3 separate regions of the Homo sapiens genome follow, and regions 2 and 3 are each linked to region 1. Evidence: promoter capture Hi-C in 16 types of primary human blood cells and fetal thymus (Javierre and others, 2016). All regions are on one chromosome and are shown on one strand. The core of a region is centred on a gene start or on the middle of the fragment in contact, and the rest is flanking DNA. Distances in the headings are between cores, read along the strand shown.

The links. Contacts are between HindIII fragments. The CHiCAGO score rates a contact against its expected background, and 5 or more counts as called.
Region 2: a contact is called between a fragment that was not itself captured here and the fragment with the promoter of SFSWAP in region 1, in 1 of 17 cell types (M2 macrophages). The highest score is 5.2, in M2 macrophages.
Region 3: a contact is called between a fragment that was not itself captured here and the fragment with the promoter of SFSWAP in region 1, in 6 of 17 cell types (megakaryocytes, M2 macrophages, M1 macrophages and 3 more). The highest score is 11.5, in megakaryocytes.

Annotation. Positions count from the first base shown.
Region 1 is chr12:131,708,531-131,712,392 of GRCh38, reverse strand. SFSWAP (splicing factor SWAP) reads right to left here and starts at 1,303. Exons shown (of 18, transcript NM_004592.4): 1 at 946-1,303. The coding sequence starts at 1,163. RefSeq lists enhancers at 1,069-1,138, 1,229-1,518, 1,659-1,748. The HindIII fragment of the contact is 11,852 bases long and covers 1-2,768 here.
Region 2 is chr12:131,137,445-131,141,072 of GRCh38, reverse strand. ADGRD1 (adhesion G protein-coupled receptor D1) reads right to left here. Exons shown (of 25, transcript NM_198827.5): 24 at 2,844-2,936; 25 at 1-1,905. The coding sequence ends at 1,810. Among named protein-coding and RNA genes, the nearest start is that of LINC01257, 26 kb to the left of the region's middle. The HindIII fragment of the contact is 9,971 bases long and covers 1-3,628 here.
Region 3 is chr12:131,099,289-131,103,223 of GRCh38, reverse strand. The region is part of intron 15 of ADGRD1 (adhesion G protein-coupled receptor D1); the gene reads right to left. Among named protein-coding and RNA genes, the nearest start is that of LINC01257, 64 kb to the left of the region's middle. The HindIII fragment of the contact is 196 bases long and covers 2,171-2,366 here.

The DNA.
Region 1 (3,862 bases), core at 54-2,553:
CCCAAAACCCAGAGACGAGGGGAAGGGGGATTGAAAAAATGGGAAGAAAGAGGGGAGCAAACCACCTACATCATGTAATGTTATCCTTTTCAAATCAAACGCCTTTAGAAATCCCTAATCCCAGGCCCCCACTGCCCATAATCGCTAGACACCCTCGAGTGACGACCTAAAGCAGGTTTGATTTGAAAAGAAACAACACATCTATATCCCAGCTCCACCCTTCAGTCTTAAGAGACAGTGAAACCAGCCCTAAGAACACTATCTCTTCCAAGAGCAAGGCCAGGGTCCGCACGAAGTCAAGTGGCCACCAACTGACGGGCAACTTTGCTCACTACCTCAATCTGTCAAACTCGTCGGATTATCACCGGGAAATCAAACGTCATGCCGGCAAAGTACGGGCGCTCCACTGAGGGCTCTGGGGGCATAACAGGTTAAGGCTAACTCACAGGTCCAAGAGACACTTCTAGCCACTGTCTCAGTGAGCGGCGGTTCGGAAGAATAAAGGCACGCCTCCCAGGGTACCCTCCCAGTACACCGAGCAGTGAGAGCGCGGCAAGTAGAAAAGCAGCGCACGACCCCATGGCATCGCCGGGCGGCAGGCCCAGGTGCACTCAGGAAAAGACCCTGGGCACTGGCTGCTTTCACCGCGCGGAATCGCCAACTGCAGCCCAGCGACAGGGTGAGGGGTCGAGAGGGGCTGCGGGACCAGAGACGATCCCTCCGGAGACGGACGCGGCACGCAATTCCAGCCAGTGCCTTAGGGCAGGTTTCACCGTCCCCCTCCCCACCAGAACACCAGGAGGAGGTGGGGACAGGGGAGGGGGTGTCCCCCAGATCCCCGCTGGCTCCAGAAAACTCTCTGCAGTCCTTGCAGTCAAGTCAACATCAGACGAGATCAAGCGGGTGAGGGAAGGGAAGGATCGACGGGTGGGGAGAGGAACCGACCTGTCGATGAGGATCTTGTGGTCCCCCATCCAGGGGATGAGGTGCTGTCCCTGTTCCTGAGCCAGGGCCCGCTCGTCGTCCCGGAACAGCTTGCAGGCATAGCCGAAAACCAAGAGCTCCACTCGGCTGCCCCCACCGCCGGCACCGCCTGGCCCGGCCTCCTCCTTCGCGCCGCTTTTCCTCTCGGGTTTGGCGCGGCCCCCGCTCGCGCCGTACATGACAGCGTCCCCGGCGTCCAGGCTGGTCCTCTTCTGTGCCGCGCGACGTCCCTGATACCTCCACTTGGCCTACCCCTTCAGTCAAAGACCCCGCATCCCGTACCCAACCTCAACACCGCCGCCATAGCGGGCCACAAAATGGTGGAGGGGCAGCTTCCGGCAGGAGAGCCCGCATTTCCGGCGAGCGGACCGGCAGATTCGCCTAGGCTTGGAGCTCTTTTAGCCGCTAGGAAATATTTTGGCTTTAATTTTCGCATTCAGGTGTGCCGCCACAATAGGCGCTGCTGTATTCAGTGGAAAGTGCAATTTTAATGTCCGTTTTATCGGGCAGCCGTCAGGACGTGGCGAAAGCGCAGCGTGGGATCGCGCGCCGGCTTCCGCTGCGGCCAGTCGGGCGGCGACGGAGTCGGAGGGAGGGGCCCGGCGCGCTCTGGGCCTTGGGCGAGTCCTCGTGGGTGGCGGGTTGCTGCAGCCTGCCACATGTGTGGAGGCCTCGGGTCCACCCCGAGCCTCCGCGCCCCTCACCATGTCCGAGTCGCTGGGGCCGTGCGTGCTCTGCCCAGGGTGGCGATGTCCTTTTCCTTGGCCCCGTTTCCTTCTCCATCCCTAGGGGGACTTGGTCCCCGACCCGCCCACCTTTGAAGGTTTCCGAGGCAGCAGAGGCCCCTGCGCTGCAAATCACTCGCGGGTGGCGAGATTTCGGAAACCTGAGACCCTTGTCGCCGGGAGATGGTCTGGCGGGGCAGGGAGACCCCAGTCTGGAGACTGGCCACCTGGATACGGTGCAATTTTGCTTGGTGTGTTTCCTCCTGGGCCGCAGTTTTCCCATCGGTGGTTCCATTAGGATCTTTCGGTCCCTTTTAGCTCAGTAATTTCAGGTCAGACAAAGGGCCTGGAGTGCAAAATCTTAGGCTTTGGGATGGGATGGGATATCCCCATGTTTGCCCTTGAGTGGAAAACGATGACAGATCGTCTCCTTTCTGGGCCTCAGATCCCCTCTCCATAAAAATGGAATCTTTCTACCAGTGATGTTGAAATGAGATAATGTATATGAACCTTTAACTGATTTTTGGAAATTAAGAAACAGGCAGTTCCCACCAAACGTCTTTTGTTGTGGTTTCCCCTGACTGGGTCATGCTTCTGTCTTCATTTGCCAGGCTCCTTACCCAAGTTTAACTCAGTCATCCATTTCTCCACCTGGCCTTATGTGTCTACGTTGTCTGGAGTTTCCCCTCACTGGTGGCTAACTTGTGCCTTCCGATTTGTCTGTGTACCTCTCATCACCACCTTAGGTTACATCCTGTGTTCAGCATCCCACCAGAATTAGCTTTAAGAGATCAGGGACATTGTTGGGGTCACCTTAGCATCCTCAGCACCTAGAATGGTGCTTAGCACACTGTGGGCCAAATACTGGTTAATACCTGTAGAATGAGCCGGGCCAGCAGCTGAGCATGCGTGGCCAGGCCATCATCTTCCTATCTAACTCTACAAGACTGCTCTGCCACTGCTGAGGAAGATGTATGTGTCATGGTTACTTGATAAAAACACTGTTGTTTGCCCCCAGGCATTTACTAGTTTGTTTCGGTGCTGGGCTCCCTTCAAGCTTTCCCTTGGGTTCAGGTGTGGGGTGCTAAAGCAAATAAGGAGGCCATTAGCTTGAGATCAACTCTGTAACACCAGCTCCTATGCAAGCAAACCAAAACCCAATCAAGTAATTTTTCTGCTTCCGTGTTGGGTCTATAAAAGCTTGCTGCTCATGCTGCTGAGTGGAACTCTCTGAACCTCTTCTGCTTCTGCATGCTGCCTGATTCATGAATTGTTTTCTTGCTCGAATAAACTCGAATTTGTTTTGTGTAAAGTTTCTCTTTTAACAGTTCTGGTGTCAGAAATGGGATCTGAAGGCCCCCCTATTCCCTCAATGATGACCTCTGGGAACAGTGACTAAACAGATGCAGGTGCTTCATTGTGCAGGACAGTTCTCTGTATAGCCTTGGGCCTACCCACTTCTCCCTCCTTTTCCTTTGTAGTTTTCAAGAGTAACTGCATAACGAGCTGGGATGCAACATCCTGAGATAGGGAGGGACTGGCTGAAGTAGCCCAGGCTCTGTTCCAGTTCTCCCCTAGAAATAGAAGGTCCTTCAACACTTTAGCCCAGTGATTCATGTGACATGTGGTATGTAATCTGGGTGGGCTGCTCTTCGGGATCTCTTATCTGTGGTGTAAGTGAGGAATACGCAGTAGAGATTTCATCCACCTGGGCAACTTTCTGAGCTTTGGGGGGATTGGCTCACAGTGAGTCCTAGTCTTCGTCTCCTACCACCTGTCTATAGGTAATAAATGCACTACATGTAAATTGTTGCTTATGAGAATTCAGAACAGGTTGGTAACCAGTGCCCGTGGGCCTGCTTCACACACTGAGCCATTTGTGCTCAGGGCTTCTCACTGCACATTTGGAGGCCGCCACTTGTAGGCCCTGCTTGGATACAAACTCTACAACTTGTGTCAAATTCTTAAAGTTTATTTGAGCATTTTTGATCTGAGCTGGGTCCAGAAGTTACAACAGAAACTGGGACTGGATCCAGTACAAGGCCTATGGGAGCAGGACTGAGTCCAGTAGGAGGCTTATGGTAGGAAAGGGTATGAGAATACAGGGAATGATGCCTTCATTTGGATCCAAGGAGTCTGAAACTCCTCCACCT
Region 2 (3,628 bases), core at 1,006-3,505, 570 kb after region 1:
GGTGCTCACCGGCGTGATGAGGATCTGGCACTGTGGTCCATGTGACCTGGTTTCTGGGGTCACGGGAGCCTGGGGCAGTGGCTAAACATGGGACTTTAGTCCATACTAAACATGGGACTCTTCACTGAACAGCGGCCTTGGCCTGCAGCAGCCAGGTGTGCCCGCCAGAGCACGGTTGCAGGGGCCATACGCAGGGCCCGTGGCACTGTCACCATGTGGCAGGTGGCTGGTGCAGCCTGGGCCTCGCCTGACAGAAGAGCAAAGGTTCACCCCTGCAGACATGCTGCTCCCTGCCTACCCTCCCCATGCAGGAGAGGCCTGCAGATGAGTGGTCCACTCCAGGCGACCAGGGGAAGAGTTACATTAAGAAGCCACCAGGTGGGCTGCAAAAGGGCCACAGGCTCCATAGAAAACTCACTCTGAAACAAGGCAGACATAGGGGTGTGGAGGGGCTGAATGAAATCATGGTCACAGTTTTAAAGGAAGAGTTTCCAGTATCAAAACCAGGTTTGAATGTCTTACCCACATTTCACAGACACCACGAGTGCTATCAGCACAGTATGAACCTCACAGCCCGTATCTCGGTGGTGTCTTAATTCACATCTATGATCCCAAACCTGTGTTCCACAGGATCATGCCCACACATGGGTCCATAACAATTATCCCATCTCCTCTGGGGCTGAATCTGAGTCCATAAATTTCCCTCAACACAGAAGACACGGCTGTCACCAGCCCTCCCTCTCCAGGTCAGTGGGGACTCAGCGCAGGTCGGTCTCATGGTGACCAGACGGAGCGCACTGTGCTACCTGCCGCGTGGTCTGCCCATTAGAAACTTCGTAGAGTGCCTGTGAGCCATGAGGAAGCCTCTGGGGAAAGCAGTGCCCTGGAAAATGCCCTCCACTTTCCACCTGGACACCAGGCACTGCGGGGACACGGCCAGCTCCTGTGGCCCAAGAACAACCAAGGAGGCTGGCACACGAGGGAGGAGGGCATCTTAAGGCCGAATTGGGGTCCAAAGAGGCAAAACTCACAGCGGATGGCCGAGAAGCTCCCCCAAGCACAGGCACCATCAGGCAGCCTCAAGGCCCAGAGCGGCTCTTCACGTGAGCAGAGGGGACCCCCCCAAGGACAGGGCAGAGGGGTCGCCCTCACCTGGAGAGTCAACGACTCCCGCCCACGGCTCGAGCTCGGCTTGGGCAGGGGCCCCCAACTGATGACACAGCACAGGTTGGCCCACGCCGGCACCACCTACAGAGACACACACCACGGCTAGCGCCGGCTGTGGGGAACTCACCACTCAGTGGATTCAGACACTGGGGACTCCGCATGCTCTTCCCCACACACCCCCAGCTGCCTGCGCCTGACTGAGGGTGCGTGGGGACCTGAACCACCTCTTTGGCCCTGAGTCCCCAAGCCCCACCAAGGCACAGAGGCTGAACATCCCCTCCTGGTGCTGCGGGACCGGCCCCGAGTGTCCTGGCCTCGCTGGGTCTGATGCTGAGTGATGAAGGGAGGCTCAAGGGCACCATCACAGTCAGGCCACTGTGTCCTGGGAATCCCCCGAGGAAGTCACTCAGCCCACGGGTGGATGCAAGGCAGGAGGGCCCACGCTGGCCTGGGCATCAGGCTGCTGGGCTGAGCAGTGTGCTCCGACAGCCAGAGTCACAGGGGAGGACAGCTGTCTCGGGGCCACAACACCCATGTCCAGACAGCAGCAAGGAGAGGGTCCATGGGCAAAGGTGGGGCATTTCATTCTGTTTGGGGGGGTGTGTTCTGAGCGCAGCCTGGCCTGGTTGGCAGCCTCCCGGCTCACACGGCTGACAGGTCGACGCGGTGGGCAGAGTGGCTGCTCTTGTCCCAAGGGCTGAGCTTGGTGGAGGCCATGCCTGGCCGGGTCCCATTCATCTGCAAAGCATAAAGGGATGAGCAGTGAAGGGCCTGCTCCCAGGGGGAGAGCCATAAGCCCAGTGAGTGCGGGGAGCATTGGGCCCATAGCTGCCCGAGGATTCTCCCTGCGGGAGGAAAGGTGCAGAGAGAAGGGAGCCCCCATGCTCCTGGGGGAGATGAGGATGTGCGCACTGTGGCGTCTCCAGCCGCACGGTTCTCCACGCTGACTCCCCTTAAGGGCACTGCAGGCGTGCTGTGCTGAGCGCTCACTCCCTCCTCTGCTCACCCATCTGCCCGGCACCCACGCTTTCACCCCCATGCATCTGTCCACGCTGCGTTCATTCCACGGTGACTCATGGAGCGTGCCACACACCCGGCGCAGCTGTAGCCGTGGGGCTAGAGCAGCCCATGAGCCAGCCAGCTCCCATGGAGCAGGGCAGACGTGGTCCCTAAGCAAATGGAAAATCACACAGCTGCGGGCGGGGGCGGAGTGCGAGAATGGGTGGGAGCGCCTTCATTGAGCACCGTGTGCGGGGAAGGACTTCCTGAGGATGGGACACCTGAGCAGGGCTCCAGCAGGGGGGAAGCAGCGGCACAGTGAGAACCCTAACAGGGCCTGCTCCAGACTGCCTGGGGGCCTGCCTGGGCTCTGGAGGGCGGCGGGGATGGGCCACCTCACGGTCAGTTGATCTCTAAGTCCTTCCATCCCTAAGTGAACACAAGAAGCCCTGACTCTTCGGGGTCAAGGGGTAGGGCTGTGGTGACTTCATCAGGACACAGGGCACTGTGTGGGGGACACAAGCCCAGAGCACGTGCAGCCTGCAGGCATGAGAGGGGGACAAAGACTGCTGGGCACCCGAAGCCACCTCTGCTGCCTGCACACCCCATCCTGCTGACAACCGAGCCTGGGGAAGGAGGATGGGCTGGGACCCTCGGTTTATGGAGGCTGCACTCACGAGGTCCGAGTGGAAGGGCTTCGCGTTGGAGGTGCGGGCAGAGCTGCTCGTGAGCGACCAGACCTTGGTTTTGTGCTTGAAGGCGGCTCTCACCTTGAAAGCGGGGAAGGGATCGTGAGAGCAATTTCAGAGGCTGCAACAGCCGTAACCAGAGGAGTCTGTGCCGGTGCAACTCCGGAACCAGATGTGCGAGGGAGGTTGGGATTTGGAAATATGAGTCGGAGCTGCTGGCTCCACAGCTGAGCTGTGCATCGCTGCTCTGTGGGGCAGAGCCAGGTTGTATCGCAGGCCAGGGAAGCTGGGTGTGGAGTGGCCTCTGCTGGGCTCCTCACACTCAGCAATGAATGTCCCGGGGTGAGTGTGAGAGAGAAGCAAATAAACAAATGCGTGGTGGGCAGGCAGGCGGGTGGGCGGGCGGGCTTCCATGGCTGCACTGCCTTCCTGCCACCGGGATCCACCTCAGGCCTTGCAAGGGGTCACTGGGCGTTGCGATCAAGGGGTCACTGGGCTTTGTGATCATGCAGCCCTTCTGCCCGGCCACCATCCTGCTCAGCGACTCTGCTCTGCCCTCCTTGGCCCACCTGGCCTGTCCTTGCAAACGGACACCGCCACTGAGATGGACCGGGCAGGACGGCCCCTCTGCCCTGGGCCCATTCCCCATCCCAAGGCAGCTCCCACAACCTCAGCCTGGTAGGGGCTCAAAGCTGACTTGGGAAAAGTTCTCCCACAGGAACAGAAGTCCTTGGGGCAGCCCCTACCTCCCCCCAGCCAAGTACATGGCAGGT
Region 3 (3,935 bases), core at 1,019-3,518, 610 kb after region 1:
GGCTCAGGGACAAGGCAGAGAGGCTGAGGGCTGGGCAGAGCCACCTGTGCTGAACGCCGGCTCAGGCCTCAGCAGGCAAGGACCTGCGCACAACTTCCAATTTCCCAGGGGCTGGACTTCCCTCTCCACGGACGTTGTGGCTATCACGGGAAAGGTGGGCACTGCGTGGCCAGGGCCAGGGAGACGGAAGAATCCCCCTTCCAGGTTCATGATGCCCCAGGGAGAGAGGAGGGGCAGTCACAGGGGAGCCCATCAGTATCCCTGAGGATGAGAGGGAACTTTGAAGAAATGGGGCCCCCGTCCCCTCAGGAGAATGGCTGCGGTTTCTTGTTCTTGTTTCTGGTTATTGCAGAATCATGCAGTTAGGGGTAGGAGAGCCCCACTACTCCTTCTCCCATGGATAAACCTTTTTCCTTCAACTCCTGGGCCTGGCCTCCCATATTTGAGAAGACCTTCAGGCTGTTGACCTCTGACCCCTGGGAATCACAGCCATGCCCGTGGGCTTCCCTGCAGCAGGTGCCACGATGTCCCCTGGGTGTGTGCCTCCATCTTGGCTTCCCCTGACCCTCATGGGCTCTCCTGCACTGGGCTTGAGGAACTCAAGGTGGAGACTTTGGTGAACTCACACCGACTCTGCCCAGAGCCCACTCCCTATCGCTGCCTGGCAACACCCAGGGCACCTGGGACGCTGTGGGCGAACAGGGGCCTCCCGGGGGCCCGAGGCTGCCCAGTGCTGCCCATCTCTGCTCCACCAGGTGGGAGCTGAGGTCACAGGCATCTTCTGCCAGCAGAAGGGGCCTTGTGGGAGGGGTAGGCACTCATCAGTCACCTGCCGAGTATGTTTGGCAAAACAAGTTCCTCAACAGGCGGGTGCTGCCAGTGCATTCCCACCGCAGCATTCTCGGCAATGGAAACAAACATCTCCACCTGCAGACCGACGGGCCAAGAGCTACTCCCATTAATCGCATAGCCGCGGTGGGTGAAGGGAACTCAGTTTCTAGGCCACATTCCCCACGCTAAGTGTGTGACACTCCAGTTTCCGCATGACATTATTAGCAAATTGTCCATGAAATGATGTTTCTGCTTTCAGATAAGTTTGGAAAAAGCTCCATTCTCTGCACCCCTTAAAAGACTTTTTGGATGAATATAAAGCCACTTAAGAGTTCTGAGGATTCTGCAGGTAAAATAAACCCCCCTGTTCAGCTATGTTCAACTTGGCATCTCTTAAACTCTTTGGAGGAGGAAGGGAAGAGACCCAATGACAGCAATAGAGATGTGGTTTAAGAAGTGCTGTTTTAGAGGAAGTGAGATGTTTCAGAAACTAAGAATAAAACCAAATACAGGACACACTGACATTATACTGGATATGCAATCTTTCTAAGACAACTGAAAAGTCTTGTCTCTCACACTGATCTCTGCCTAGAGATGGAAGTAAGGGTCAGTTACAAGAGTTTTGGGCCTCAGCAGAGGGAATGGTTCTTGGAAACGAACGTCCAGCTCTTCAGCAGTTACCAAACTGAATTCAGTTAAAAACCAATGGAGGCCAGACACAGTGGCTCACGCCTGTAATCACTCTGGGAGGCCGAGGCGGGCAGATCACCTGAGGCGAGGAGTTTGAGACCAGTCTGGCCAACATGGTGAAATCCCGTCTCTCCTAAAAATACAAAAATTAGCCAGACATGATGGCCCACACCTGTAATCCCAGCTACTCAGGAGGCTGAGGCAGGAGAATCACTTGAACCCGGGAGGTGAAGGTTGCAGTGAGCCGAAATCGTGCCACTTGCACTCCAGCCTGGGCGACAGAGCCAGACTCCATCTCAAAAAAAAAAAAAAAAAAAAAAAAAAAGAAAGAAAGAAAAAGAAAAAAAATAAAAGAAAGAAAAGAAGAAAAATCAGTGGAAACACTGCTAGTAAAGGAAAGAAAGCAGTGGTGTCCAAAAGCCTGCCTGGCCCACTGCCCTGGGAAGCCCCCCAAGAGATGCACCCCACACAGGTCTCCACCCCACAAAGCCCTGGCTCCTCCCCACCCCTGATCATCTCTGCTCTACCCAAGTCATCTCATGTCCCACCAGAGGGATGCATATCACTCTCGGACACCATAGCTGCATTTCATGGGGCATCGTCTCTCCCCCAGGGACACGGGAAGCCCTGAGGATGCATTAGGGAAGCTTTTCCTACCTCATCTCGCAGCTCTAAGAACAGCAGTGAGCAGTACTGGGAACAATGGTAACCAGAGGTATTTGCTGAAGGCGTCAGGGGAGAAAGAGCCCTCACATCTACCCATCTGACTCTGCCACTGATTCAACAGACAGATTTCCTAAATCTACATCACTGATTAATATCTTTTAAATTGAGAAAATAAAGCTTTAGCTCATCTATTTGCAAATGCAGTGAGGTTCCAGTGGGCTGACATGAGAGTTCGCTGCACACTGGGCTGCAGTTGGTCAGCCAACTCTCTAAAACATCTTAATCTCCGTTCTTGGCCACCCATTCTACTGGGAGTTTCTGACAAATGGGAGTCTAGCCCTAGCCCCAGACCCACACCTACCCACTTATGCCTTAAGCCTTCCAACCATATTATCGATCAACCTTATCGCCAACCAACCATGCCATCAACCAACCCATTATCAATCAACCCACCATCAACCAACCCATCATCAATCAACCTTACCATTAACCAAGCCTACCATCAACCAACCTTACGTTCAAACAATGCATCATCAGCTAATCTGACTATAAACCAACTCCACCATCAACCAACCTTAACATCAACCAACCCATCATCAACCAACTCCACCATCAACTGACCTTACCAACAACCAACCCATCATCAACCAACTTCACCATCAACCAACCTGAACATCAACCAAACCGACCATGAACCAACCTTGCCATCAACCAACCCATCATCAACCAATCTACCAGCCAATTCCACCATCAGCCAAACCCACCATCAACCAACCTTACCTTCAAGTAATCCACTATCAACCAACTCTACCATCAACTGACGCATCATCAACCAAACTCATCATAAACTCACCTTCAACCAACCCACTACCAACTAACCTAACCATTAACCAACCCATTAACCAAATGCATCATAAACCAACCTATCAATCAACCTGATTATCAATCAAACCCATCATCAACCAACCCATCATCAACCAACTTTATCTTCAGCCAATCCTACCCTCAACCAACCTACTGTCAACCAACCCTATCTTCAACCAAACTTACCACCAGCAAACCTCACCATCAACCAACCCCACCATGAACCAACCCCACCATCAATCAAGTCTCTTTATCATGTACTTTTATCAAACCCACCCAAAGCCAGCATCATGCCAGGCACAATGGGGAGTACTAAAAAGAAAGACATATGGCTCTTCCCTTGAACTGAGCTAATAGCCTGACCAGGCAGCCTTGAAATGATTGTAAGAAACATAAGGCCAGACATATTGGAGGGTCACATGGTACATGGTGCTTGAGTTATAAGGTGAGCCCATAGGTAAAAATGATAGATGATCAAAATGACCTTTGAAAACTCCTGAGATCTCCCATAAACTGGAGTCTCCATGGCTTCTGCATGTAACGTTATACATTCTTCTTCCACACAATGGTCTGAATAATGAGGCCGACTTCAGGAGGGATCAAGAAGAAATGGCATGCACACGTCAGGGTCTGCAAACCTCACTGCTTCAACACAGCTTTCAAGTCCACAGAGTGGACTGAGGCAGAAGGTGACAATCTAGGTGATCCTGATAGTGGCTCACTGCCTTCTCTTTACTACAGGGACTTTCTAGTTGTAACACACATTCAGCCATGGATTTGTCATTGTATTACTTAACCCTGCAACCTGTGTTAAATGTTGACTCCACCACGACCTGCACACAGCCTTAGGAAACTGGAAGGGAGGGAGGGTGATCTGAAGGAGG